Regions from separate parts of the Homo sapiens genome. Here regions 1, 2, 3, 4, 6 and 7 are each linked to region 5. Evidence: promoter capture Hi-C in 16 types of primary human blood cells and fetal thymus (Javierre and others, 2016). All regions are on one chromosome and are shown on one strand. The core of a region is centred on a gene start or on the middle of the fragment in contact, and the rest is flanking DNA. Distances in the headings are between cores, read along the strand shown.

What was found. Contacts are between HindIII fragments. The CHiCAGO score rates a contact against its expected background, and 5 or more counts as called.
Region 1: a contact is called between the fragment with the promoter of RREB1 here and the fragment with the promoter of SNRNP48 in region 5, in 1 of 17 cell types (total CD8 T cells). The highest score is 6.3, in total CD8 T cells.
Region 2: a fragment that was not itself captured here is called in contact with the fragment with the promoter of SNRNP48 in region 5 in 2 of 17 cell types (M1 macrophages and M0 macrophages); the score reaches 7.1 in M1 macrophages.
Region 3: a contact is called between a fragment that was not itself captured here and the fragment with the promoter of SNRNP48 in region 5, in 11 of 17 cell types (M0 macrophages, non-activated CD4 T cells, activated CD4 T cells and 8 more). The highest score is 8.2, in M0 macrophages.
Region 4: a contact is called between a fragment that was not itself captured here and the fragment with the promoter of SNRNP48 in region 5, in 2 of 17 cell types (total CD8 T cells and naive B cells). The highest score is 6.0, in total CD8 T cells.
Region 6: a fragment that was not itself captured here is called in contact with the fragment with the promoter of SNRNP48 in region 5 in 15 of 17 cell types (total CD8 T cells, naive B cells, total B cells and 12 more); the score reaches 13.2 in total CD8 T cells.
Region 7: a fragment that was not itself captured here is called in contact with the fragment with the promoter of SNRNP48 in region 5 in 1 of 17 cell types (M2 macrophages); the score reaches 5.3 in M2 macrophages.

The regions. Positions count from the first base shown.
Region 1 is chr6:7,106,047-7,109,510 of GRCh38, forward strand. RREB1 (ras responsive element binding protein 1) reads left to right here and starts at 1,915. Exons shown (of 13, transcript NM_001003699.4): 1 at 1,915-2,014. RefSeq lists an enhancer at 724-783 and silencers at 1,134-1,613, 1,674-1,893, 2,684-3,173, 3,194-3,283. The HindIII fragment of the contact is 7,744 bases long and covers 1-3,464 here.
Region 2 is chr6:7,329,232-7,332,927 of GRCh38, forward strand. It overlaps CAGE1 (cancer antigen 1), which reads right to left. Exons shown (of 14, transcript NM_001170692.2): 13 at 618-657. Among named protein-coding and RNA genes, the nearest start is that of SSR1, 18 kb to the left of the region's middle. The HindIII fragment of the contact is 1,260 bases long and covers 1,417-2,676 here.
Region 3 is chr6:7,260,534-7,263,890 of GRCh38, forward strand. No RefSeq gene overlaps it. Among named protein-coding and RNA genes, the nearest start is that of SSR1, 51 kb to the right of the region's middle. RefSeq lists enhancers at 545-1,336, 903-1,022, 1,093-1,232, 1,337-2,128 and silencers at 573-702, 1,826-2,001. The HindIII fragment of the contact is 4,464 bases long and covers 1-3,357 here.
Region 4 is chr6:7,244,475-7,248,094 of GRCh38, forward strand. It overlaps RREB1 (ras responsive element binding protein 1), which reads left to right. Exons shown (of 13, transcript NM_001003699.4): 12 at 1,950-2,747. Among named protein-coding and RNA genes, the nearest start is that of SSR1, 67 kb to the right of the region's middle. The HindIII fragment of the contact is 213 bases long and covers 1,358-1,570 here.
Region 5 is chr6:7,588,483-7,591,815 of GRCh38, forward strand. It overlaps SNRNP48 (small nuclear ribonucleoprotein U11/U12 subunit 48), which reads left to right and starts at 1,716. Exons shown (of 9, transcript NM_152551.4): 1 at 1,716-1,931. The coding sequence starts at 1,776. RefSeq lists enhancers at 1,473-2,212, 1,791-1,940. The HindIII fragment of the contact is 5,411 bases long and covers 484-3,333 here.
Region 6 is chr6:7,277,994-7,281,441 of GRCh38, forward strand. SSR1 (signal sequence receptor subunit 1) reads right to left here. Exons shown (of 8, transcript NM_003144.5): 8 at 3,150-3,448. Among named protein-coding and RNA genes, the nearest start is that of SSR1, 33 kb to the right of the region's middle. The HindIII fragment of the contact is 1,926 bases long and covers 288-2,213 here.
Region 7 is chr6:8,010,070-8,013,508 of GRCh38, forward strand. The region is part of intron 4 of BLOC1S5-TXNDC5 (BLOC1S5-TXNDC5 readthrough (NMD candidate)); the gene reads right to left. Among named protein-coding and RNA genes, the nearest start is that of BLOC1S5, 53 kb to the right of the region's middle. RefSeq lists a silencer at 1,982-2,190. The HindIII fragment of the contact is 3,640 bases long and covers 325-3,439 here.

The DNA.
Region 1 (3,464 bases), core at 665-3,164, 480 kb before region 5:
TTCTTCAGTAAACAGTAGACCCTGGGAAACATAACAGGTTCCGAAAACTTAATTTTGATGACTGAAAGTCAGAGAAACAGCCAGCTGAATCAGCTCCTTCTTGGGCAGTGGTTTAGCCTACTTATCTCATATCAGACCTAAGGGTCCAGCTGCTTTTCCTTGGTTCTAAAGAGTTCTATTCTGGCCAGGACCCATCCCGAGACAGACACTTCTGTCTGCAGCCCTGAAAACTAGAGGTCAATGGAAGGGCTCAAATTAAAGGCCCACAGTTGGGCTTACAACTCTCCATGGTGTTCAAGCCTTCTCAGAGGAGCTGGTGTGGTGGAGCCAGGGTCAAAGGTCATAGTAAATAGAAAGTAGCCAGCTTTCTGCCTGCATAACATCATCTTGCCTAACCAGACTCAAACGCTTAATTCTACTGTAGTATTCTTTGGACATTCTTCTTTAGAACTACGGGGGCGGGGGGGGGGGGGCGTGTTTATTTTCAACAACCACAATCATCCTTATCTTTCTGAAGATGTTTCCAAAGGCTGAGAACAGACCCCTTTCAGAACCTCGGTAGGAGAAGTATTAACAGTTGGAAACATGTCAGCTGCTTTATGGAGGAAGCACAGCCCAGGCCTGGTTTCTCTGGGCTCCGTGATAACTTGGGGCAAGGCAGCCAGTGCGAAGCGTGGTGGCAGGAGCTGGAGAGATGGAGAGCGGCTCGGAGAAGGGCCCCTGCTTTTCAGAGTTGAAACAGGAGCCCTCTGAGAGAAAGAGATACTGCGTGTGGCTTCTCTGAAGCCTTGGAGGGCGACGTGGATGACACAGCATCAGCCATTCCATCGCGGGGTGGGGACACAGTGGCGGCAGGAACCGTCCTCAGCCCCTGGCGGCCACGGCAGTTCCCCGCTGAAGCATCCTTTGTGGGGTGTGGGTAAGGGAGGGGGACCAAAGTCGGGTCGGAGTTGAGTTTGTTAGACGGCGAGCACACTCAGGGCGGCAGCCCGAGTAAGAAGGATGGCCCCGGGAGAGAAACGGCTCGAAGCTAGGGGCGGGGTGAAGCGCCTGCTCCTTAATCTCCTGCCCCATCATCCACTCGCCCCACCTGGATGCAGAGCGAGGACCGCGTGGAAAGGAAACGGCGCGGGCGGGGCTCCCCCTCGCAGATGCCTCGGAGACCCAGAGGGGCGGCGTCAGGCCAGGGCCCCGAGCCCTACGCCCCCCATCCCCCCAACTCCAGCGCCTCTGAGGTGCCCCTCTCGCAATTCCGAGGCATCACCGTGTCTCCCCCGCCTCCGTTAAAATAGTGAAACTGCGGAGTGAAGTGATGGAAAGCCGGGGGCGGGGAGTCGCCCGCGGCGAGGGGCTGCAGGGGAGGGGGCGCGGTGGCCGAATAAGGTGGCCCGCGAGCAACGGGACGATTGGGATCGCAGCCAGTCGCGGCCTCCCGGACCCTTCCCCTCGGGCAGCCCGGCCCTCCCATGGCCCGGGGCGCCTTGGGAGGGCGTAGGGCAAACCTGGGGCTGCGGTGGGGGGTGGGGAGGGGACTCCACCTCCATCCATCCCGGGATGGCAACTGCGGTCACCCTGCTAAAGTCGGGGCGGGGGCGGCGGTCCTCCCCCTCACCCCCCCCAGTCCGAGCGCCGCCGCCGCCGCCGCCGCCGCCGCCGCGGCCGCTCAGTAACACGTCCCCAGGAGACTCGCAGGAGCAACACGTGATGTGTCTACTTATCAGGGTGAGAGGGGGAGAGCGAGACTCCGAGCGTGCGGGCGAGGAAGCTGGGCGGGGGGCCGAGACGGGGGCCGGGACGACGGCTGGGGCGCCGGGGTCGCCAGCTCCTCGCCCACCTCCCTCCCTGTGGGAGAAGAGGAGGAGGGGAAGTGACTGCGGAGTTGATGAACTTTGCACATCCAGAAACGCCATTTTGATTCCTTTTCCGGAACAAGTTTGCATCTCTCCTCGGTCTCTCCCTGAAGCCCACCGGTCCCCAACGCATCATGCCAGGGAGCCAAGCGTCCTGCCCGGCCGTAAGTACGTGCCCCGGATTCCGACTCGCGGTACGCCGGCGGCAGCGAGAAGTCTGGGGCACAGCCGGAGCGACCTTTTAAAGAACTTTGGGGATGGGGAGGGTGAAGTCTGCAGAGCGCGTTGTACTTTTGAAACTCGGTGTGTCCCGGAGCCGGGGACCCGCACGCCCCACTCCGCGCAGCGTGCGCTCGGGCCGGCGGGGCGGCCAGGGATGAGCGGGGCAGCCCTCTCCCCTCGGGCTGCGCGCCGGGCCATTCCTCCTCCTCCTCCTCCTCCTCCCCTTCCTCCGCTCTTTTCCCTTTCCCGAGCCGCCGGCTCTGCCAACCAGCTCCCAGCGCGAGCCGCCGCAGCGCCCCGCCAGCAGGACCTGATGCGCATCCATATTAGCCGTCCGAGCGCAGGAATCCGGCCCGACCCGCGCCGCCGAGTTTATTTTTAACCAGCACCGCCGGGACTCGGATGGTGCGCGCACCGCCGGCCAGAAACATCTTCCCAGCGCTGCTCTCCATCTTCCGCCCTCTCTCCCTCGACATCCTCCCCCCCATGTGGGAGGGGAAACTTTTCTCCTACATACTTTCGAGTCCTTCTCGGGCCGGGAAGCGCGGAGATGACGGCGCCCGCCCTCCCGCCGCCGCCCTAAGGTATCCGGGGGTGCCTGCCCGGGGTGCTCGCGCGGGGGTGCCTGCTCGGGGCTGCTCGGTGGGAGCATCCGCCGCGCCCTGCTCTGCGGACTTTGAACCTCCCGGGCGGACGGCGCCGGCCGGGAGGGGGCCGCGGGCAGCCCCGCGCCCTCGCGGGTTCCCGGCTGGCGGTCGTGGTCACGCCGACCACCGCCCCGGGGGGCCTGGGGAGGAGGGGACCGGGCCCTAGCCGTGCGGGCACGTATTGTTCCCTCGCCCTTCCGTTGGCGGGGTGAGTGTTTTCGTGGGAGCCCTCGGTGTGGAGCTAGCCTGCCTCGCGGGCGGGGGGGGTGGGGGGCTCGGCGCCGTCACGAGCACAGGAAGGAGGCCGGGAGCATCCGAGGCGGGGCCGGCCGCCGGGGCCCGCTCCGCCGCCCAGCTGTGGAGCGCGCTCGGAAACTTTTGTCCGCCGCCCGCTGGACCAGTTTTTCACGAGTTCTGGGGCTTCCCTTCCTCCTCCCATCCCGGCCCCCGGCGTCTAGCTGGGTGGGGGGAGGGGGCCTGTTGCTGCCCCCCCCGCCCCCAACTTCCCGCACAAGCCTTGGGCCGGGCCCCCCGCGCCCCCTCCCCGCTCGCGGTCTCTTAGGAAACTGCGACCTTAATGGTTGCTAAGGAGCAGGGGAGGTCCTTCCCGTCGCCGACCCCCTCCCTGGGAAGCGGCGTGTTTTCTGGACCGGGCCAAGGGCGCGTCGAGGATGTGACCTGCTCCGCGGCCGCGCGTGAGTGCGGGGCGCGTCGGCCGAGCCCACCGATGGGCGAGGCCACCTTT
Region 2 (3,696 bases), core at 797-3,296, 260 kb before region 5:
CTGTATCCTATAAATATGTACAAGTTATATGCCAACTAAAAAGAAAAGAAAAAAAAATCGCTTGCTTAGAAAGCTGCAGTTGGTTAGATGTGGCCAATATGCATGATGAGAAGGAGAAAGCAGTGAACGGTAAGACTGGATAGGAGGGCTGGAGCCAGATCATAGGGGACTTTATACGCCTCGCCAAGGAGCTCAGATTTGATCCAGAATGTGATTGGGAACCACTGAAGGGCTTTATGCAACGGAGGGGCATGAAAATATTTTGCTTTTGAAAGATCACTCTGTCTACTCTATGGAGGATGGCATGAAGGGGACCAAAACTGGAGGCAGAAACAATAATTAGGAGGTGAGTGCAACAGGTCATATGAGAAACGACAGGGGCTTGAAGGAGTAGCAGTGGGGATGGTGTGAAGGAGCCCTACAAGATTAGAGGGAGGGGTTTCCAATTATAGCACCAGCTATGACAGGAGACGGAAGAGCCCTCATCTGAAGACAGAGGGGAAGGCTAGGTTGCACAGTATGGAAATGTGACTTCAGGAACTCCTATTAAATCTTGTGTTATTGTCAAATTACATGGAAATGTAAGATTCTTTATCATGATCATCAAGGTGACCTACCATGGTCATGGACTTCGGATGATTTTCTAAGCTTTTTGATCTGTAAGAAATAGAAAGAAAATAATGTAAAAAGGAGGAAGGGGGGACTGAAATAGTGAACATGGTGAGCAAGTTGCCATTATTTAGCATATTTTCCCCTCACTTTCAAGGAGAAATCGTCATTTAAGATAGAACTATGAGACCCTCAGAGATTAAGATCAAGCTTTTTGGTATATAACATGTGAATCATTCTCAGTGCATTTAAATAAAAACAATGAGGCAGGTTGCGGTGGCTCACACCTGTAATCCCAGCACTTTGGGAGGCCCAGGTGGGTGGATCACTTGAGGTCAGGAGTTCAAGACCAGCCCTGCCAACATGGTGAAACCCTGTCTCTACCAAAAATACAAAGATTACCTGGGCATGGTGGCACGCACCTGTAAACCCAGCTACTCACAAGGCTGAGGCGGAGAATTGCTTGAGCCTGGGAGGTGGAGGCTGCAGTTAGCTAAGATCGCGCCATTGCACTGCAGCCTGGGTAGCAGAGTGAGACTTCATCTCAAATAAAAAAATACATAAAATAAAATAACGATGAGGCACACTCTCACTACATTTAACATTCTCATAGATTTACTTAGGATACGATTCTGACTTGAAAACTTAATGAATTTCCTTGAAAGTCATGAAGAACTAGAGGCAAAAATAAAACATCTGAGGCTATTCAGATACTCGCTTTTGTATCCTTATTTCCCACTATTTCCACTACTGAAGACAACTGGCAAAAGCAATGCCATAATTTTGAGAGGCTGCAGAGTAAGCTGAAGCTTGTTTGAGTGCCGAATATACTGAGATCAATTGGGCCAGTCATCACAGGCTTCACAGAGGGTGGTGGCTGAAAGCTGATGTAGGTCTGGAGTTTTCTAACAAATGTCCTCTTGGCTGGAAAGGGCTTTGAGAGCTCTTCTGCCCATCTCACCCCCTGGCTTCTAGGCCAGTCTAAATCTATATAAATGGGCCTAGACTCCATTGTGAAAATAGGCCAAATATAAGTAAACAGAGGTCTGAACTGGTGAAACACATGTAAATTCATATTTAAATTTTCTTATTTTAAAATAAGCCTAGGAAAAAAATTCCATTGTTTCTCTCAGCAACTCAGAGAAGATCCATCTTCAGTATAAATTAGCATTTACTGAGCATCTGTGGTATGCCAAGGATCAGATCACATTTTTTCATTTTGGGGAAAAAGTCATAGTTAACCTATCACTTGCAAATGCTAGTTTAAATCTGCCAAGGGTTTTCTATTTTCTTTCTCTCTTTCTTTTTTTACATCTTTAATGAAATGACCTTGGAAATAACGTACATTTCCATGACACCAACACTATAGTTTTTGGGGTCACGGTAAGATACACAGAATTACATCTGTAATTAATATGACTGCCAACATGTCAAGCAGTGGTTTATCACATGGCAAACAAAATCAAGAAAGCAACCATCAAACAAAAGAGACCCGTAAGTCTGGACAAGGCAAATCCCAGGACAGCATATGAGAACAGCTGCTACTTTAGTGCAGGGTTTCTGGCATAACCAATGATAAGGCTACCAAAGACTGTTCCAATACCAGCAGCAGAACCAGCCACTCCTAATGTTGCAGTGCCTGCACCGTTACATTTCACACCAGTCTCAATGTCTCTGCTGATTGCCCTGGTTTGAAACTCTTTGGTTTAGCTGAGACACACCATTCTGGGCCCCATTAAATACCACAGAGCCCTCTCCAGGTCTGTATGCAACTCTACGCTGTTTAAGATAGAACTTCAGAGCGGGGGTGCAGGCGAGCTTGGCATAGGCAAACATCTTAAACTCTTCGAGGTGGTGCAGCTGGAGGACTTGGGTGACAGGAGACTTGGGCTCCTCTCCCGCTTCCTCTCCTCCTGGGAAGTGGCAGTGGCAGCAGTGGCAGCAGAGGTTGAAGGAATGGGCCTCCGATTTTCAAAACAGTTGTATTTGCAAATGGTATGCTGAACAAACATGACTTATGACAAAACCAAAATGCAACTTTAATTTTGGTCTTCCATTTCTACTTTAAGCTTTTTGCACTCAGAGAAGCTTTTCCTTTGCCCTTCCTTGGGTGAATACACAGCAGGGCCAATGCTTCTTTTGCTTACTCTAAAGTAACAGTCTTCACTGTGAGGCATAAACAGTCTCAATTCATTAGGTATACTGTACTGTCTTAATATTAATCAATCCTTTAATCTTCACTCAAAAGCAGGGCTTCTCCTCCCCATCTATCAGTTCAGGTCTGTAGCTGATGGACACCACTGTCTTTGGAGGCCAGTTTCCCCTTTTTGCTCATTTCCCTCTCCATTTGTAGGAGGAGAGCAAAGGCCACAGGACAGCTCATACTTGGCTGGGTGGCTTCAGAGTCTCAGCTTGGCAATTGGCTAATGCTGATTCTTTCTCTTTGGAGCTTGCCGTTGCTGGGGATCTCTGTCCTGCAGTTCCCAGGACCTACGCGGAGGCATTTCTCCTCTGGGTGATCACTCGATACTCTATCAGCCCCGAAGAATCTGGCATTCTCTTCTAGTTTCTTGCTGCTTCCAGGCCTCCTTGGGCAGAGCTGAAGATAACTCAACTCTCAACTGCATGGTTCTTAAGGGATTTTCACACCCATTCTTTGTCTCAACAAGCTCAGAGAGAAAAGCTATCCAACACAGCCCCTCTGCTGAGCAGCCACAGCTTGCCTTAGTTTTCTTAGGCATGAATGAATCACCAGTCCTCTGTGTTTCCCAACTTTTAGGGAACACGTTTCAAAGCTCTTTAGGTGATTCCCTGGAAACTCCTCATAAGGCTTTAGGTAAAAGAGGTAGAATTACCTGGGAGACAGGAACTCATGACACGACAGATTCGAAGAAATCCTTCTCCAATCTTCCCTACTCTCCATACTTTTATATCTTGGATCTGGCCAAGAGATAGGAGTCATGGAAGGGGTTCTCTGAAATCATTTATTTCGGAAACTCTGCACATGGGAAAAACTCACTCTCACTTTGGGAACTGGTAACAGTGTTATTAGCACCTAAGGAACTGGGCTAGAAAGAGTCTCATTTT
Region 3 (3,357 bases), core at 449-2,948, 330 kb before region 5:
TTCAGGCTGGTCTGAGGCATGTGCCCACCTCTGGGTCACACGTCATTCTTGAAGCAGTGGGCAAGTCAAATATCCCCACCCCTCCTGCACAGAAAAGGGGAGGATCCCAAGAAGAGAATGTGGGGGCTGCCTCCAGGAGGAGAAGAAAGACTTGTGGGTCCACTGCAGACATCCAGGTGGAGATGTCTGGAGCCCAGGGGTCGGGTAAGAGCTACAGCCAGGTTGGGGTTATTGTGGGAGGAGCCGTAGGAGTGAATGAGATCAGGAAAGGTGGCCGGGGTAGACCTAGGACCTAGGGACCTAGGAAAGAGACAGACACGCTGGGGAAGAAGCGTCAGAGGACAGAGGGTGAGACGCTTGAAAAGGAAGTGGGCGAGAACAGTGTTGCCTAAAAAGAGGGAGCCCAGTTCCCTGAAGGTGAGGGTGAAGACAGGCCATTGGGCTGAGACGATGGGCAAAGGGCAGGGTGTGGGCAGAGCTGGTTTGGGACCCAGAGCAGTGGAAGGGCAGAGCAGCCCTTGCCGAGACCAAGGGACAGCAGGGCTGAATGACCGCAATGCAGCACCCGCTTCGCTTTGCAAATAAAATGCGGACTGCGCGAGAAAGCCTGGCTTTTAGCGTCCATGCGTGTCCAGGAACAGCGACCAGGGCAAGTGCTTGAGTGCGCCAGGCTGGGCGAGGCAGGGAGGGACTGAGGGCTGGGTCCGGGGGAGAGGAGTGGCCAGGGAGGAGGGGCGACCCAAAGGCCTCCGGTGATGCGCTGACAGAAGGTAAAAACAAGGAACAAAGCAAAACCACACACAGGACGGCAGCGCGGAGTCCGGGCCCTGCCCTCTGCAGCAGCGCAGCCCGGGGACTCTGGGGCTCTCCCTGCTGCCTGTGGAATTTCCAGGCCAGCGCATCTGATTGGCCTGGCCTGGGGCAGTGGGTGGGGATTTGGATGTTTCCAGAGAAGGGAAGATGGCGGTGAGACAGCCGCTCGGCAGCTCCAGAGGGGTCGATCCCGCGACAGGGGAAGGGGGCGTGGGCGTCACATGGCAGCGCTGAGACTTGAGTGCTGGAACAGCCCAGCGAGGAAGGTCCCAAAGACAGCTCTTTTCACCAGAGACAGGCCGTGCGTTTGCGGTGCGGGCTCCACCCGCAGTTCTGCTTCAGGTAGAAAAGGGATGAGGGTGCCGGGCCAGCTTGACCCGGTTTCCGCAGGGGCAGAAGCACTTCTTACCTTCGGCCTGCAGAGCCCCTCAAGCAACAGGGAACCACATTCTCCTGCCCTTGGAAAAAGTTGACCCGCTTCACAGTGAAGCCAGAGAGGCGAGGTGGGGGCGGCGGGGGGATTTGGATGGGACTTCCAGACGCCTTTCTTCTTCCCAGTGCCTACCTAGGGATGGGGACGCTAGGACAGCTGAAGCTGGCACATATCTGATCACTGTTCCTCAAGCACCTCTTTGTCCATGCACCCTCCCTGCCCAACACCTCCAATGGCCTCTGAGGCTTGGAGAATGACATCCAAGCTCTGCTTCCCAAACAGGCCCAAGCCCACCCTCTGCCTCCCAACTCATCCGACCATGACCACCATCTGTCACCCTTTGCAGCCACGCCCTGTGGTGACCACGCCCACAGACGGCCCTGGTGACCTCGCCGACAGATGGGCACGACCTTGAATGGCTCTGCTTTTGATAGTCACGCCCCTTGTAGCCATGTCCTGTGATGGCCACACCCACCAATGAGCATGCCCTCAGGTGACCACTCTCAGACACCCTGGGATCCAGCTGCCCTCACACCCCCGGGGCATGCCTGGGCACACCTGTCCTCTCTTTGGCCCTCCCCTAAAAAGCCCTCCAAATCCTAAATCCTTCTTCCAAATCCTGTTCTGCTGCTTCAGTCTCACCACCTCCTTGAGGCCCCCTGTGACTACCCCAGCTCTCTGGTGTTCACTCGCTTGGTTCCTACGATACATTGGAGCACATTTGCCTTTTTAAAAATAAGCTGAGCTGTCTCCACAGCTAGATTTTCAGATCCCGAAGGATAGGATGGAGGCAATTATTCTTTTTTGTGTACCATCCAAAACTTATCCCAGCACCAAATACCTTTTAGCTATTCAGTCTATGTCTCTTTTTTTTTGAAATGGAGTTTTTGTTCTGTTGCCCGGGCTGGAGTGCAATGGCATGATCTCAGCTCACTGCAACCTCCGCCTCCTGGGTTCAAGCGATTCTCCTGCCTCAGCCTTCCGAGTAGCTGAGATTACAAGCACCCGCCGCCACACCCAGCTAATTTTTTGTAATTTTAGTAGAGATGGGGTTTCACCATGTTGGCCAGGCTGGTCTTGAACTCTTGAGCTCAAGTGATCCACCCGCCTCAGCCTTCCAAAGTGCCGGGATTACAGGCGTGAGCCAACGGGCCCGGCCTGGCTCCCGAGAGCTTTCTAATGTGCAAGGAGGGCTGGGACTGGCTGATCTAAGGGTACCCTGGGAGTGCGATAGTGTGGTCAGCTTATGGGATTTGGAGCCAAACGGCCCCAGTCCAAGCCCTCACCTCACTCTCTGTGTGCGATCCAGCAGCCCTGGGCCTCAGTCATCTTCATCTCCCATATGGGTTTAAAATGCCCACTGCCCAGAACACACAGTGCCTACAGAGCTGCAGATGAGTCGAGCCCCTAAAGCGATAGCCCCCAAGCCTCCCTCAGAACCTAAGGGCTACACTGAGATAGACCCTCAGTCTTCTATACCCAGGGACATGTGGGGACAATGCAACACTCTCAAAAGAGGTGGCTCAAACAATGTCAACCGTAGTCATTTTATAGTGCTGGGAAAAGAATAGCCTTAATTTTACATCTGATTATAGAGGGAAGGATTCATAGTGTCCCTAAATTGACCTGTCTAAATATTTCCACATAATATGCACAATTGTCATCTGCAGGCACAAACGTTTCCTTTTCTTTTCTTCCCTTTTTTTTTTTTTTTTGAGACTGAGTTTCACTCTTGTTGCCCAGGCTGGAGTGCAGTGGCGCCATCTCGGCTCACCACAACCTCCGCCTCCCGGGTTCAAGGGATCTCCTGCCTCAGTCTCCCGAGTAGCTGGGATTACAGGCATGCACCACCACGCCCAGCTTTTTAGTAGAGATGGGGTTTCTCCATGTTGGTCAGGCTGGTCTCAACTCCTGACCTCAGGTGATCCACCTGCCTCAGCCTCCCAAAGTCCTGGGAATACAGGCGTGAGCCACCGCGCTCAGCCAAATGTTTCCTTTTCTTTTTTTCTTCCTTTCTTTTTTCTTTTTCTTTCTTTTTTTTTTTTTTTTTTTTTTTTTTTGAGATGGAGTGTCGTTCTTGTTGCCCAGGCTGGAGTGCAATGGTACAATCT
Region 4 (3,620 bases), core at 214-2,713, 340 kb before region 5:
TACCAATATCCATTCTATAGATGCTCTCTGTTGAAATGATTCAAGAAAAACGAACATCTAGTTTTTCCTTGGAATGTGGCCCAGACATTGGTGTGCATATCCCAGGACTCATATTCTTTAAGCTTTTGGATAATTTTGCAAAATCATTTCTTCTTTAAAATGTTATATTCACACCATAATATTTCTTTCTGAAACCTCTTGAGATACCCAAACAGTGGCTGCCAAAAAGTGCAGTCAGTGTAAAACTAATGAAATGAAATGATGTAAGTAGCCGCGTTATGCAGATGGCTGTGGGTAAAGCCTAAAGCCCCAAGCAGGTGTGAACAGTAGGTACTGTCTCCTCAGACCTCAGGACGGGGCAGAACCAGCTCCTTACCCCAGCCCTCCTGACCGCCTTGATGGCAAATCATCAAGCATGTGACATTGAGGAGGTGTGATGGATGCAGGTTGACATTGTAGTTACACCTGATCACGTCAAGTGAGAATCCAGGTTAGGTGCGTGAATCTGCTGGCTCAAGGACTGCAATCACATCTGGCCTATTGAGGGAGGGGCATCTCGTACTTGTGCCATAAAACAATGACTTTCATCCACCCAATTATCAGAGGAACTTGAATCCCTGCAGTAATAAATCAGACAGTGGCCGGGCACGGTGGCTCACGCCTGTAATCCCAGCACTTTGGGAGGCTGAGGTGGGTAGATCGCCTGAGGTCAGGAGTTCGAGACCAGCCTGGCGAACATGATGAAACCCCATCTCTACTAAAAATACAAAAATCAGCTGGGCGTGGTGGTGGGCGCCTGTAATCCCAGCTCTTGGGAGGCTGAGGCAGGAGAATTGCTTGAACCCGGGAGGTGGAGGTTGCAGTGAGTGGAGATCACACCATTGCACTCCAGCCTGGGCGACAAGGCGAAACTCCGTCTTGAAAAAATAATAAAAACTAAATCAGACATAGGATCTGCAGCTAAATAATAGGTCCCACCAGCTTCCAATGTACTGTCGTAATGCATAATTTTAAGAAGTTATTAAGTCTTCTTTCAACCTTAGTAAAGAGAAGGCCTTTTGACACTGTTTGATGTGAATATTGCAGCCGTGCCATCCCTTAAAAGGACTGTTGAAAACTGATAGGCTTTCCACATACAGTTTTACTGGGTGGAATGGACAGATAGGAACAAATCAAGAGGCAGGAAGTCAGGGTAGGTGAGATGCCTGGAACCCAGAACCCCTTGTCTTCACAGGCACCCACAGCCCTTCACAGTCCGCTCCCCTCACTGTGTGCTGTTGCCAAGCCTGGCATCAAGGGTGCCCTTCCTTTGAAAGATTCCACCACCCCTGGGAGGCTGACAGCTAGGAAGCCTACAAGCTTGCCTGCGCCCCCTTGGGTCTCTGCAGCCTCCACCTGGAGATGAGCGTCAGGCAAGAGTGTGCATACCATACACACACAACGCAGGCTTGGGGTCGTTTCCTGTGAAACTCATCAAGACCATGCTTTGGAGGATTAGGGGTAGGGGTGGTCCTGTGTATGTTGCATGTTTGTATGATCTCTTTGCACTGGAAAAATAACTTATAACTCAAGCTTCCTCAACTTCCCTAGCGCTGCGAGTCTCTGGAATGCACCCCTCTCCTATCTCGCAGCCCCTGTCTGCCCTGCCTGAGTCACTCACACCTTCCTGGGGGCGGGGGCAGTGGAAGCCAGGGGTTCAGGGGCACAGCCAGCCCTGGGAACACACCTGAGGTGATGTGGAGGCTGCTTTTGCCTTTCTTCACGTCCCCAGGGTCATCTTGGTCCTCCTGGGGGATGTAACAGGTGGTGAGGATTTGGGCCGAAAGAAGTCCTCACTGGTTTGGGGTTCAGGCTGCTGGCGTGGGTCTAGCCCATTCCCGGCGACATCCCTGGCATGGGCGTACCTGGTGGTGCCCCTCTGAGCCCTCCCCGCTGTGCTTGCCCCACAGACAGTCAGTCGGATGCGGAGACTGCAGCCGCCGCGGGCGAAGTGCTAGACCTCACCTCACGGGACAGAGAGCAGCCGTCGGAGGGCGCCACTGAGCTCCGCCAGGTCGCAGGGGATGCGCCTGTGGAGCAGGCCACGGCGGAAACGGCCTCGCCGGTGCACCGGGAAGAGCACGGGCGTGGGGAGAGCCATGAGCCGGAGGAGGAGCATGGCACTGAGGAGAGCACTGGGGACGCCGACGGCGCGGAAGAGGACGCGTCGAGCAACCAGAGCCTGGACCTGGACTTCGCCACCAAGCTCATGGACTTCAAGCTGGCGGAGGGCGACGGCGAGGCAGGCGCCGGGGGCGCGGCCTCGCAGGAGCAGAAGCTCGCCTGCGACACCTGTGGGAAGAGCTTCAAGTTCCTGGGCACCCTGAGCCGCCACCGGAAGGCGCACGGCCGCCAGGAGCCCAAGGACGAGAAGGGAGATGGCGCCAGCACTGCAGAGGAGGGGCCCCAGCCCGCCCCTGAACAGGAGGAGAAGCCCCCCGAGACCCCGGCAGAGGTGGTGGAGTCGGCCCCGGGTGCCGGGGAGGCCCCGGCGGAAAAGCTCGCGGAGGAGACGGAGGGCCCCTCCGACGGGGAGAGCGCGGCCGAGAAAAGGTCCTCAGAGAAGAGCGACGATGACAAGAAACCAAAGACAGACTCCCCCAAAAGCGTGGCCAGCAAGGCAGACAAGAGGAAGAAGGTCTGCAGCGTGTGCAACAAGCGGTTCTGGTCGCTGCAGGACCTGACCCGGCACATGCGCTCCCACACAGGTAACCAGGGCAGGCCAGGTCCCCGGCCCAACAAGAGGAGGCGAGCCGGGCACCTCTCCTAGGAGCTCCCCTGAAGCGGCGCTGGAGGCCACCGAGAGAACGTTTGCTTACGTTGCCGGTGTGCCCTTTAAGCCCGTGAACTAGGAGTTTTAAGGAGTTGTACTCTCAGCCCTTGAAGACGGTGCAGGCCTCCTGCAGCCAGGCAGGAGAGGGTCCTTGGCCGTTGTGTTTTTGAGAACGCTGTGATCCGCCTTTAGCTCTGCTGCCTCCGCCTCCCCATCTGTAGAGTGGGGGTAACAGCTGCCCTGTTTCATAGAGGTATCTAGGAGAGGGTGCTTGTGCTGGGCATTTGGGCCACTTAGTCCTGTCTAGTCCTGTGGCCTGGACGACAGGCACTGCCCCAGGCCGCTGTGGGGCAGGCACCCTGGGTGATCCATTAGGGTCAGGAGGGCCTTTTCCTTTCTTAGCCGTGCAGTTCGGCTGAGATGACTGGGACAGGACCCTTAGCCACTGCCCTTCACACCGTTCTAGAGTTCACCCACCACCTGCAGGGTGGAGGCTGCAGACCCCAGAGCAGGGGCGCTTACTTTGACACAAAGACCTGAATATGCTCATGGAGTCCAGAGATATATCCTTCTTCTTTCCAAAATAACCTGTCCCTCCTCTCAGCCGCAGCTTCCCTCCCTGTCACAGCTGCAGCCCGCAGTGAACACATGTGCCCCGACCCAGCGCAGTCGGCTCTGCCCTGCGCTTGCCCGTGTGAAGGGCCAGGGTCCTTGGCTCTCAGAAGAGGGATATTCTTGGGCTCCCAACAAGCGTGGTGGGCCCTGCCCTGGGCCTGGCGTGTGAGCCATCAGGAAAGCCCCCGCTGCA
Region 5 (3,333 bases), core at 466-2,965:
GCCTGTAGTCCCAGCTACTCGGGAGGCTGTGGCAGAAGAATTGCTTGAACCCGGGAGATGGAGGTTGCAGTGAGCTGAGATTGCGCCACTGCACTCCAGCCTGGGTGGCAGAGCCAGACTCCGTCTCAAAAAAAAAAAAAAAAAGATACTGTAGGCAGAGTATGAATACATTAACTTCATACTCCTCTCTTACCAGCTTCTAGCCACTTCTGTATTTTATGGTGCTGCCTATTTATAGTCTTATGACTATTTTTTTAAGTGAGAACCGTGCTATTTGCCTTTAGAAATAATTGTTCACCAAAAAATTCCCCCACAGTTCCTTCACATGGGTAAACAAAGTGCAAAAGGAAACCAAGGTTTGACACTTGGGCTTGAAAAAATTTTAAAAAGTAATATAAAATGGGTTAGATTCTAGGAGTTGAAACCATTTGGGGAAACTACAAGGGCTAATTCCAGGTGTTGGGTAGGAAATGTACAAAGTTAAGCTTGTGTTATCAAAGCAAGAAAGCATTCAAGGACTAATAGGGATACATGAAAGACACAGATGGCTTAATGTGGCTTCCACTGGCCACATTTGGGACAATTTGAGCATCAACAAGAATTATGATGTTAAAGGAGTATATTATATTGAATTAAAAAAAAACCTTAAATCAATAACTTTAAAAACACCTTGATTCCCATAGTGAAGCAAACACTAAAATGGAGGTGTGGAAAGAATGCCAGTTAATAAACATAAAAGGCATGATACTATTGCGGAATCACTTATAACTCCTAATGTAACAACAGATTCAGTGAAGGACTGTATCAAGGAGTTGGGGAACAGGTTATTCTTATGGACTCAAGGTATAATCCACAGATTGCTTACCAATTCCTAAGAGGAAAATGTACTATTAGAATGAAGAGATGTAGCCACCACCTTTACCAAGTGATCAAATTTAGCATTACTAATATAACTGAGTTATGCGTCCCCGTGAGTTGGCAACATCTCTTAGGTAGTATTGCAAAAGTGCTCAAACTGAATCTAATCATGAGGGAAACAAAATCTGACAAATCCAGAATGAGAGAGATTCTACAAGACAACTGGCCTAGGCTCATCACAACATGTAATGATTTAATAATTTAAAAAGGAGGGTGAAGGAGGCTGATCTGGATTAAAAGAGACAATAACTAATTATAGCTTATGAGTTGAAAAAATAAAACTGCTATAGAAATAATTTTGGGGACAATGGGGAAATTTGAATATGAACTGTATAATAAATGATTTTATGGACTTACTAATTTTCTTAGGTTTGATCATGTATTGCGGTTACACAGGAAAATGTTCTTATTCTTAGAACATGCATGCTAACATATTTGGGGGTGAAAAATCTGCAACTTACTTTCAAAGAATTCAGCAAAAATCATTGGGTGGGGCTGTGAATGTGGAGAGAAGAGACGGAGAGAAATCAAACCTGGCAAAATGTTAACAATGAGCTGAAGGACGGCTAAACGAAAGCTCATTGTACTATTTTTAAAACTTTTCTGTAGCTATAAGCCGTTTTTTCTGAGGAAGTCGAGGAGGGCGAATATCTTTCTGGAAAGGCCAGAGCAAATGCACGCAAGAGCTGAGAAAAGATTGGAAAACGCCTCTCAAAATAACAGTCCCGCCCTTCCCGGGACTCTTCCCTATAGGCTGTTCAAGTCACGTGGCGACTGTGGCCCCGCCCACAGCTCCCAGAGGCCTGCGCGTGCGGTCTGCAGTTCGGCCGCTTCCTCTTGGCGGGTGGGCTGCAGCTATGGAGGGCGAGCCTCCACCTGTGGAGGAGCGGCGGCGGCTGCAGGAGGAGCTGAACGAGTTCGTGGAGAGCGGCTGCCGGACGTTGGAGGAGGTGACCGCGTCCCTGGGCTGGGACCTAGATAGTCTGGATCCCGGGGAAGAGGAGGCGGCGGAGGTGAGGAGCGCGGCCGCGGGGCCCTTTCGGGGACTATCGGCCCGGGGTCTTCTCTGGAAGAAGGGAGATCCGCACTGGCAGCCGCGGAGGGAAGGGCGAGGAGTCCTCGTCCGTGTGCAGAGCCGCGATGGGCGCCTGGGACCCGAGGGGCGCCGGGGGCCCTGGAGCAACCCTGACGTCCCTGGGTTCCGGGCTGGGGCGCGCGAGGAACTCCCGAAGGCTCCACATCGACCTCCAGTGCGGCGCTCCTCCCGCGCAACTTCGAGTTTAAAGAAAACCGGGGGCCGGGCGCGGTGGCGCACGCCTGTAATCCTAGCACTTTGAGAGGCCAAGGCGGGAGGATCCCTTGAGCCCAGGAGTTCCAGACTAGCCTGGGCAACATGGTGAAACCTCTTCTCTACCAAAAGTACAAAAATTAGCCGGGTGTGGTGGTGTGAGCCTGTGGCCCCAGCTATTTGGGAGGCTGGGGTGGAAGGATAGCTTGAGCCCAGGAGGTCGAGGCTGCAGTGAGCCGAGATCGCTCCACTGCATTCCAGCCTGGGCGACAGAGCAAGACCCTGTCTCAAAAAACAAACAAACAAAATCCAGGAAGGTGTGTTGAGTGAGGAGGGAATGGCAGATTTGGTATTTATTTAGAAAATAAGTGAACGTGTCTCAGAGCGCTGCAGAGGGATTGGCGGTTTGCATTGTCATCTGTCATACGGATTCCGCAGTTGCACCAGATTCGGTGTCAGGAGAGCTGGGAGTTTGCCAGTTCGCCTTTCTGTGCCTTAAAATTGGACACTTCTGACTGGGACAGCACCAATTCTAGGATTATTAAAGGTTGTCACCAAGAGGTGGTAACTGGCAACTCCTGTGGACATTAGAATTGCTTTTTTAAAAATGTAGGCAAGTGTATTTAGAGTGAACATTCGTGATTTTTGTTTTTTTGTGGGGTATTTTCGGTGGAATGAGAGGAAGGGAAGTGCTCCAATGTGGGGTAATTCATTATCTTTACTATTACTTCTGGGTTTACCATGCTGTGATAATTTCTCCTGGGTTTAAGTTACATGACTGATTCCTCAGAGGCATTTAAAATATATTTGATTTCTGTATATACCATTCATTGTTTATTGTATTAAAAGCACAGAGGAAATTAAAAAATCTTTAATATTCATTTAGAGGGGTATTTGAAGCTGGGAATTCCACTGAGTGGGGCTTACCAGACCCTTCCATACATTGTTTACTCAGCATTGCGGTAACATTGGATTCCTTGTATTAACGTTTAAATAGCACTTTGTTTGCCACTTACATTACTTCATTTAATACTCAAAATAACCCTATGAGGTAGGTATCTTTGGCCACATTTTATAGACGAGGAAAGGAACACAGAAGTGATAATTTGTCGAAGGATACACTGCTA
Region 6 (3,448 bases), core at 1-2,500, 310 kb before region 5:
CCATTTCCACTTCTCAAGGTGGAGCAGTCTGATCCATAACCCTGCAAGTTCCCAGCCAGAGATGCACGCATTTGTGAACAGGACACACAAACCTGTGTCCAGCTCTGCCACTTAACGGTTGTGGAATTTCTGGCAAGTTAATTTAACCTGTGTTCAATTTCCTTATTTGCAAAATGGAGATACACCTACTTCACAGTGTGATAAATAATTCACATGAAACACCTACCACGTGTGTCAGGTCCTGTTTTAAGACTTGGTGAGCTGGTGACAAAATTCTTGCTGTCATAAGCTTACATTCACAAGGGGTGATGGGCAATGGAAGGACAAGGTAACTTCTGTGTGTGTGTGTGTGTGTGTGTGTGTGTGTGAGAGAGAGAGAGAGAGAGAGAGAGAGAGTCTGTCTCGCTCTGTCGCCCAGGCTGAGAGACAGAGAGACTTGCTCTGTCGCCCAGGCTGCAGTGCAGTGGCATGATCTCGGCTCACTGCAACCTCTGCCTCCCGGGTTCAAGTGATTCTCCTGCCTCAGCTTTCCAAGTAGCTGGGATTACAGGTGCGCGCCACACCTGGCTAATTTTTGTATTTTTAGTAGACACAGGGTTTCACCATGTTGGCCAGGTTGGTCTCGAACTCCTGACCTCAAGTGATCTGCCCACCTCAGCCTCCCAAAGTGCTGGGATTACAGGTGTGAGCCACTGCGGCCAGCCCAAGGTAACTTCTGATAGTGGTGAAGATAATGAGAACAGAGCAGGGTGTGTGGGGCCTTCCATGAGGGGAGTTTTCAGGAAGACTAAGAGCAGGGAAGATGGGGGCTGAGACCTGGGCAGAGGGGATTACTGCCAAGGCCCTGATCCTGGACAAGCCTGGCAGGGTAGAAGATGAGGAGGTGGCTGGCCAGGAAGCCTGGAGGGCAGCACAGGAAGGGGCAAGGCAGGGAGGGCGAGATACTGGAGAGCCCTGCAGGCAGTGGTGGAGCACTTGTGCTCACCTAGATGCCAGTGGAAGCCAGAGGAGAGTTTCCAGAAGAGAAGAGTCAGGATCTGATAGAGTGGCTTGGACTCTTGTGGGCATAAAGCCCGAGAGGCAAGGGGGTGGGGCAGGAGTGGCTGCACTGAGCACTGGCCTGGCACCAACTCGGCAGCAGAGAGGAGCTCATGTTTTTACAAACAGCAAAGAGAAAGGCTGAGTCCCTGAAAAGGAGAAATACTTTCAAGGGTTTTCTATTAAGAATCTATCTTGGGGCCGGGTGCGGTGGCTCACGCCTGTAATCCCAGCACTTTGGGGGGCCAAGGTGGGTGGATCACGAGGTCAGGAGATCGAGACCATCCTGGCTAACACGGTGAAACCCCGTCTCTACTAAAAATACAAAAAATTAGGCGGGTGTGGTGGCGGGCACCTGTAGTCCCAGCTACTCGGGAGGCTGAGACAGGAGAATGGGGTGAACCCGGGAGGCGGAGCTTGCAGTGAACCGAGATCACGCCACTGCACTCCAGCCTGGATGACAGAGCAAGACTCTGTGTCAAAAAAACAAAAACAAAAAAAGACTCTTATCTTGGGCTGGGCGCGGTGGCTCACACCTGTAATCCCAGCACTTTGGGAGGCCTAGGCAGGTGGATCATCTGAGGTTGGGAGTTCAAAACCAGCCTGACCAACATGGTGAAACCCCGTCTCTATTAAAAATACAAAAATTAGCTGGGCGTGGTGGCACATTCCTGTAATACCAGCTACTAAGGAAGCTGAGGCAGAATAATCGCTTGAACCCGGGAGGCGGAGGTTGCAGTGAGCCAAGATTGCGCCATTGCACTCCAGCTGCGCAACAGAGTGAGACACCGTTTAAAAAAAAAAAAAAAAGAATATCTTGATTTTCTTTCACTATGTAGTGACAATGCATCCAAGTTTTAAAAAGTGGCTCCGTTTCTTTTGGGGCCACAAATAAGCTATCCACAACCACTGGATTTATTATACTCATTGTAGGAGGCTCAGATAAATTTCACATTTGCATTTATTGCTTCCATTATAAAATATAGGCTCATTACAAACATTCTGAAGAAGAAAAAAAAAGTCCACTATCCTAACCAAAAACGGCTTTAGCATTTTGGTGTATTTCTCTTCAGACTTTGGATTAATCCAAAGTTTAATACTGAATGTTTCAAGCATTGCAGAGAAGACGTAATGCTGGTTCTTACTGCCCTAATATATTTTTTCCTAACTCCCCAAGCTTGTTATGCTCTAGTATTTTTTATTCTTCAAAGCATTTTTTCCTCTCAGCAGAAAAAGCTAAAAACATTATTATCTGGTAACAAAGACTGATTCTCCAGAGTTTGCACAGCCTCTAATTAAAAGTTACTTTTTCTATGAAGAACACTTTAATTCTACTGCTTAGAATACAATCTTGAAGGGAAAGAAATCTTAGGTGCTACTGACTTACTGGCTGGGTATACAGATGAGAAAATTACATCAAAGATCCATCTCGGCTTCCTTAGAAATGTTTAATAAGCGATCAGAGTATGCAGTCTGTGCAATTATTGGGAATGGAAAGTCAGTATGGGAGTGTGGATGGGGTAGACCTTACTTACTCATATACCTGCGTGAGGGGGAGTGTCTTTATGATCATCATCTGAAAAGCCAACTAGCTGACAGCCCAAGAGTGCCTGTAAAACCAATCTTAAATCACCTTTATTCTAAAACATCACTGAAATGTCTAAAAATGTGTGAACTTTTTTTTTTTTGAGACGGAAGCACCCAGGCTGAAGTGCAGTGGCGTGATCTCAGCTTACTGCAACCTCTGCCTCCCGGGTTCAAGTGATTCTCCTGCCTCAGCCTCATGAGTAGCTGGGATTACAGGCGCGTGCCACCACGCCCAGCTAATTTTTGTATTTTTAGTAGAGACGAGGTTTCACCATATTGGTCAAGGTAGTCTTGAACTCCTGACCTTGTGATCCATCCACCTCAGCCTCCCAAAGTGCTGGGATTACAGGCGTGAGCCACCGTGCCCGGCCAAACTTTTAAATAATTTCCAGGAGGACATTCCGATCAAAATTGTGATTTTTTTTCTTTTCTTTTTTTGCTTCTATTTTGGATTCCTCGTGCGTCTTGAGACCAAGCAGGAATATGCACTGGTACTTTAGAAAACATTTCATGTTGCACACAAATACTTTCATGATCAGCTTTAATTTAAGGGACATGTAAATAAAAAGATGCATTTGACAGGACAGCAGACTAGTTCAAGCAGGAGGTTAGACCAGTAACAACAACCAAGAAAGCAAAGTGCTCGTTTCCATCTTGGCTTTACCACACTTACAAACTGATACCCAAATAACAGAAATGTTTCTCAAAGCTGCACAAGAATTTTAAGGATTCATGACCCCACTTTCATTAAATAGTCCCAGAAGATAGCTAAATAACATTTTCAGATAGAACCTCACACTGCATAAGTTTCATAACAAACAAA
Region 7 (3,439 bases), core at 895-3,394, 420 kb after region 5:
CTCTTTAAAGGCCCTGTCTCCAAATACCGTCACAATGTGGTTACAGCTTTACTTGATGAATTCAGGGGAGACAAAATTCAGTCCATAACAGGGACTGAGCTGGATGAGCAGGAGGACTTGTAAAGCCTCAGAGGACACTGTCCTCAGGAGTGAACTAGGAAAACACCTAAATTTACCCTTCTTCATTATTCAAGAAGAGATATAAAGGAAGAAAAACGTCTCCTCTGGGAATGCCTCAACGAAGCCAACAGTCACAGGTGTTTAGGGCTGAAATCCACATTTTGTGAGTGCGTATACATACACACATGTGTGTGTGGGTGCAAAAGCTTAAGGAGTAGAAAAGGGAGAGACAGGGAATCCAAGATGAAAACTGATTTTGAAGTGGTCTGTGGTTTGTAGTGTCACAATAAACAAATTGGTGCTGCAGGGAAAAAAAATCTTCTCTGTAGGACTATATTTGAAATTAAAAAAAAAAATCTCCCAAAAGAAAGTTCAGAGGAATGCAAACTTAAAATAAAAAATGACTGATCACATTAGGAAACTCGTCACCATAAACTTGTTTCAGCAAAAACAAGCAACAAACTATAAATCTGGATCCACAAAAAATACTGAAATTACCACGTACAGAATGTAAAATAAGTACTTTTAATATGTTTAAAGAAAAGAAAAAGAAGGAATAATGGAACCATCCCAGACAACCCAGGAAAGTTTAAGAAAGAACCAAACAACTCTTTTGAAAATAAAAAAAATAATAACTATAATTAACAACAGATGGGTAAAATAGGTTAGAGATAGAGTGAAGACAGTATTAATGAAATAGATTTAAAGAAATTATCCAGAATTCAACACCTAGAGACAGAGAGATGGGAAATATAAAACAGGGATTAAGAGATATGGAGAGGACAGTGAGATCATAAAACAGAAGTCTTAATTTTATTTCCTAAAGGAGAGAATAGAGAGAATGAGGGAGATACAATATTCAAAGAGACAGTAGCTGGGAATTTTTCAGAATTTATGAAAAGTACCAATTCTCAGATTCAGGAATCTCAATCAATCCCAACAGGACAATGAAAAGAAATATACAGCTAAACATACTGTAGCATGGCCACATTTGACTGTAGAACACCAAAGATAAAGATCTTAAATATGACCTGAGAAAGAAGGCAGATTAGCTACAAATACTGATCAGACTGACAACTGTCATTTCAGAAGCAGCAATGGAAGCAAGAAGACAGTAGAATATTATTTGAGAAAACAGCTGTCAACCTATAATCGTATACCTAGCTAACTTTCAAGGATAATAAAATAGCAAACTTCTAGGTAAATCTACATAAACACTGACTATACAAAATAACTACTTTTGTAGTAAAATCGAGATAGAACTAGAATTCTAGACAACAATTTGTAAGTTGAAGAGATAAATCAGACTTTGTACAAAAATCTCTAAAGAATAGGAAGAGAGTAAAGATGTTAATTTTAGATTCTGTTAACTACGCAAGTTAAATTTCCTACTAAGCACTTCATTAAAAGTTAATTTTTACATATAAATAAAATACATATCAAAACTGATTTGGAAACTGGGAAATGTTTAACTTTGAAAGCAGCAGAAGAAAAGTAGATGGAAAAATGAAACAAAACAAACTCAAGCTGAAAGAAGTCAAGAAACAGAAAAGGTGGGACAAAAAGCACAAAATAAGATGATACAAATAAATCTTAATATATCAGTAACTTTGACAAATGTAAATGGATTGAACTCCTTAGTTGACAAATGATCAGAAAGAAAGAAAAACATCCAGCCACACAGTTTTTTTTTTTTTTAAGACAGAGTCTCGCTCTGTAACCAAGGCTGGAGTGCAGTGGCGCAATCTCGGCTCACTGCAACCTCTGCCTCCTGGGCTCAAGCAATTCTCCTGCCTCAGCCTCCTGAGTAGCTGGGACTACAGGTGCACACCACCACGCCCAGCTAATTTTTGTATTTTTAGTAGAGATGGGATTTCACCATGTTGGCCAGGATGGTCTCAATCTCCTGACCTCGTGATCTGCCCGCCTCGCCCTCCCAAAGTGCTGGGATTACAGGCGTGAGCCACCGTCCCCGGCCCCAGTCACACAGTTTTTAAAGGGCATATCTAAAACATAACAGCAAGGTTTAACAGAAGGATGAAAAAAGATATATCCTATAAATCCAGCTAGCTGGCATAATCCATATAAATATAATATATAGTTTATGTATTTTTATATTTATGTATATATTTATAATTATTTATTTATAACAAGACTTCAAAATATATAAAAATATATAAAACTAAAATTGACAGAATTACAGGGAGAAATTGGTAAGTTCACTAGAATAGAAAATTTCAACACATCTCAGAGTCTGAGAGATCAAGTAGAAGACAAAAGAATAGTAAAATGGAAAAAATTTGAACTACAAAATTAACAACTTTGGTCTAATGGACATCCAACAACTAAAAAACAAGCATACTTTTCAAGCAATCATGAAACATTTACAAAAACAGGTTATAATCTAGGTCATAAAGCAAATCTCAACAAATATTAACAGATCAGTCTTAACATGTACCTATTTTCTGTCCACAATTCAAATTCAATTAAAACAGGAATCAATAAACACAGAATTTAAAAATATACACGCTAGGAAATGGGAAAAAAAAGCCTCATACATATGTTAGTCGAGAAAGAAATCATAATTAAAAATTAAAAATACATAGAACTTAACAAATCTTTCTATGGTGCTTTAAAATTATAAAACATTATTTCATTTGATCATTGCAATAATCCTATGAGCTACATAGAACCCACAATATCTCTGCTCAACAGCACAAACACAGCAGAAATGTTACAAACTGGCTAGGCACAGTGGCTCATGCCTGTAATCCCAGCACTTTGGGAGGCTGAAGTGGGCAGATCACTTGAGGTCAAGAGTTCGAGACCAGCCTGGCCAACATGGTGAAACCCCTTCTCTACTAAAAATATAAAAATTAGCTGGGCATGGTTGTACATGCCTGTAATATCAGCTACTCAGGAGGCTGAGGAACAAGAATTGCTTGAACCCAGGAGGCAAAGTTTGCAGTGAGCCGAGATCGCGCCACTGCACTCCAGCCTGGGTGACACAGTGAGACTCTGTCGCGCAAAAAAAAAAAAAAAAAAGGAAAGAAATGTTACAAATTATGTAGTTATTAAAATTGTTTTTTACATATAAATAAAATATATATAAAAAGTGATTTGGCAACTAGGAAACAGAAGCAAAAGCGTTCACCACTAAAAATATCAAAAGGAAGGTAAATAAACCAACTCTTATAGAAGCTATGTCGAATATCAAAAGGAAGGTAAATAAACCAACTCTTATAGAAGCTATGTTGAATAGTTAAAAATGTTACAAGAAACAATTGAGTATCTTAATGTCTAAAGCTCAAAAAGCCCA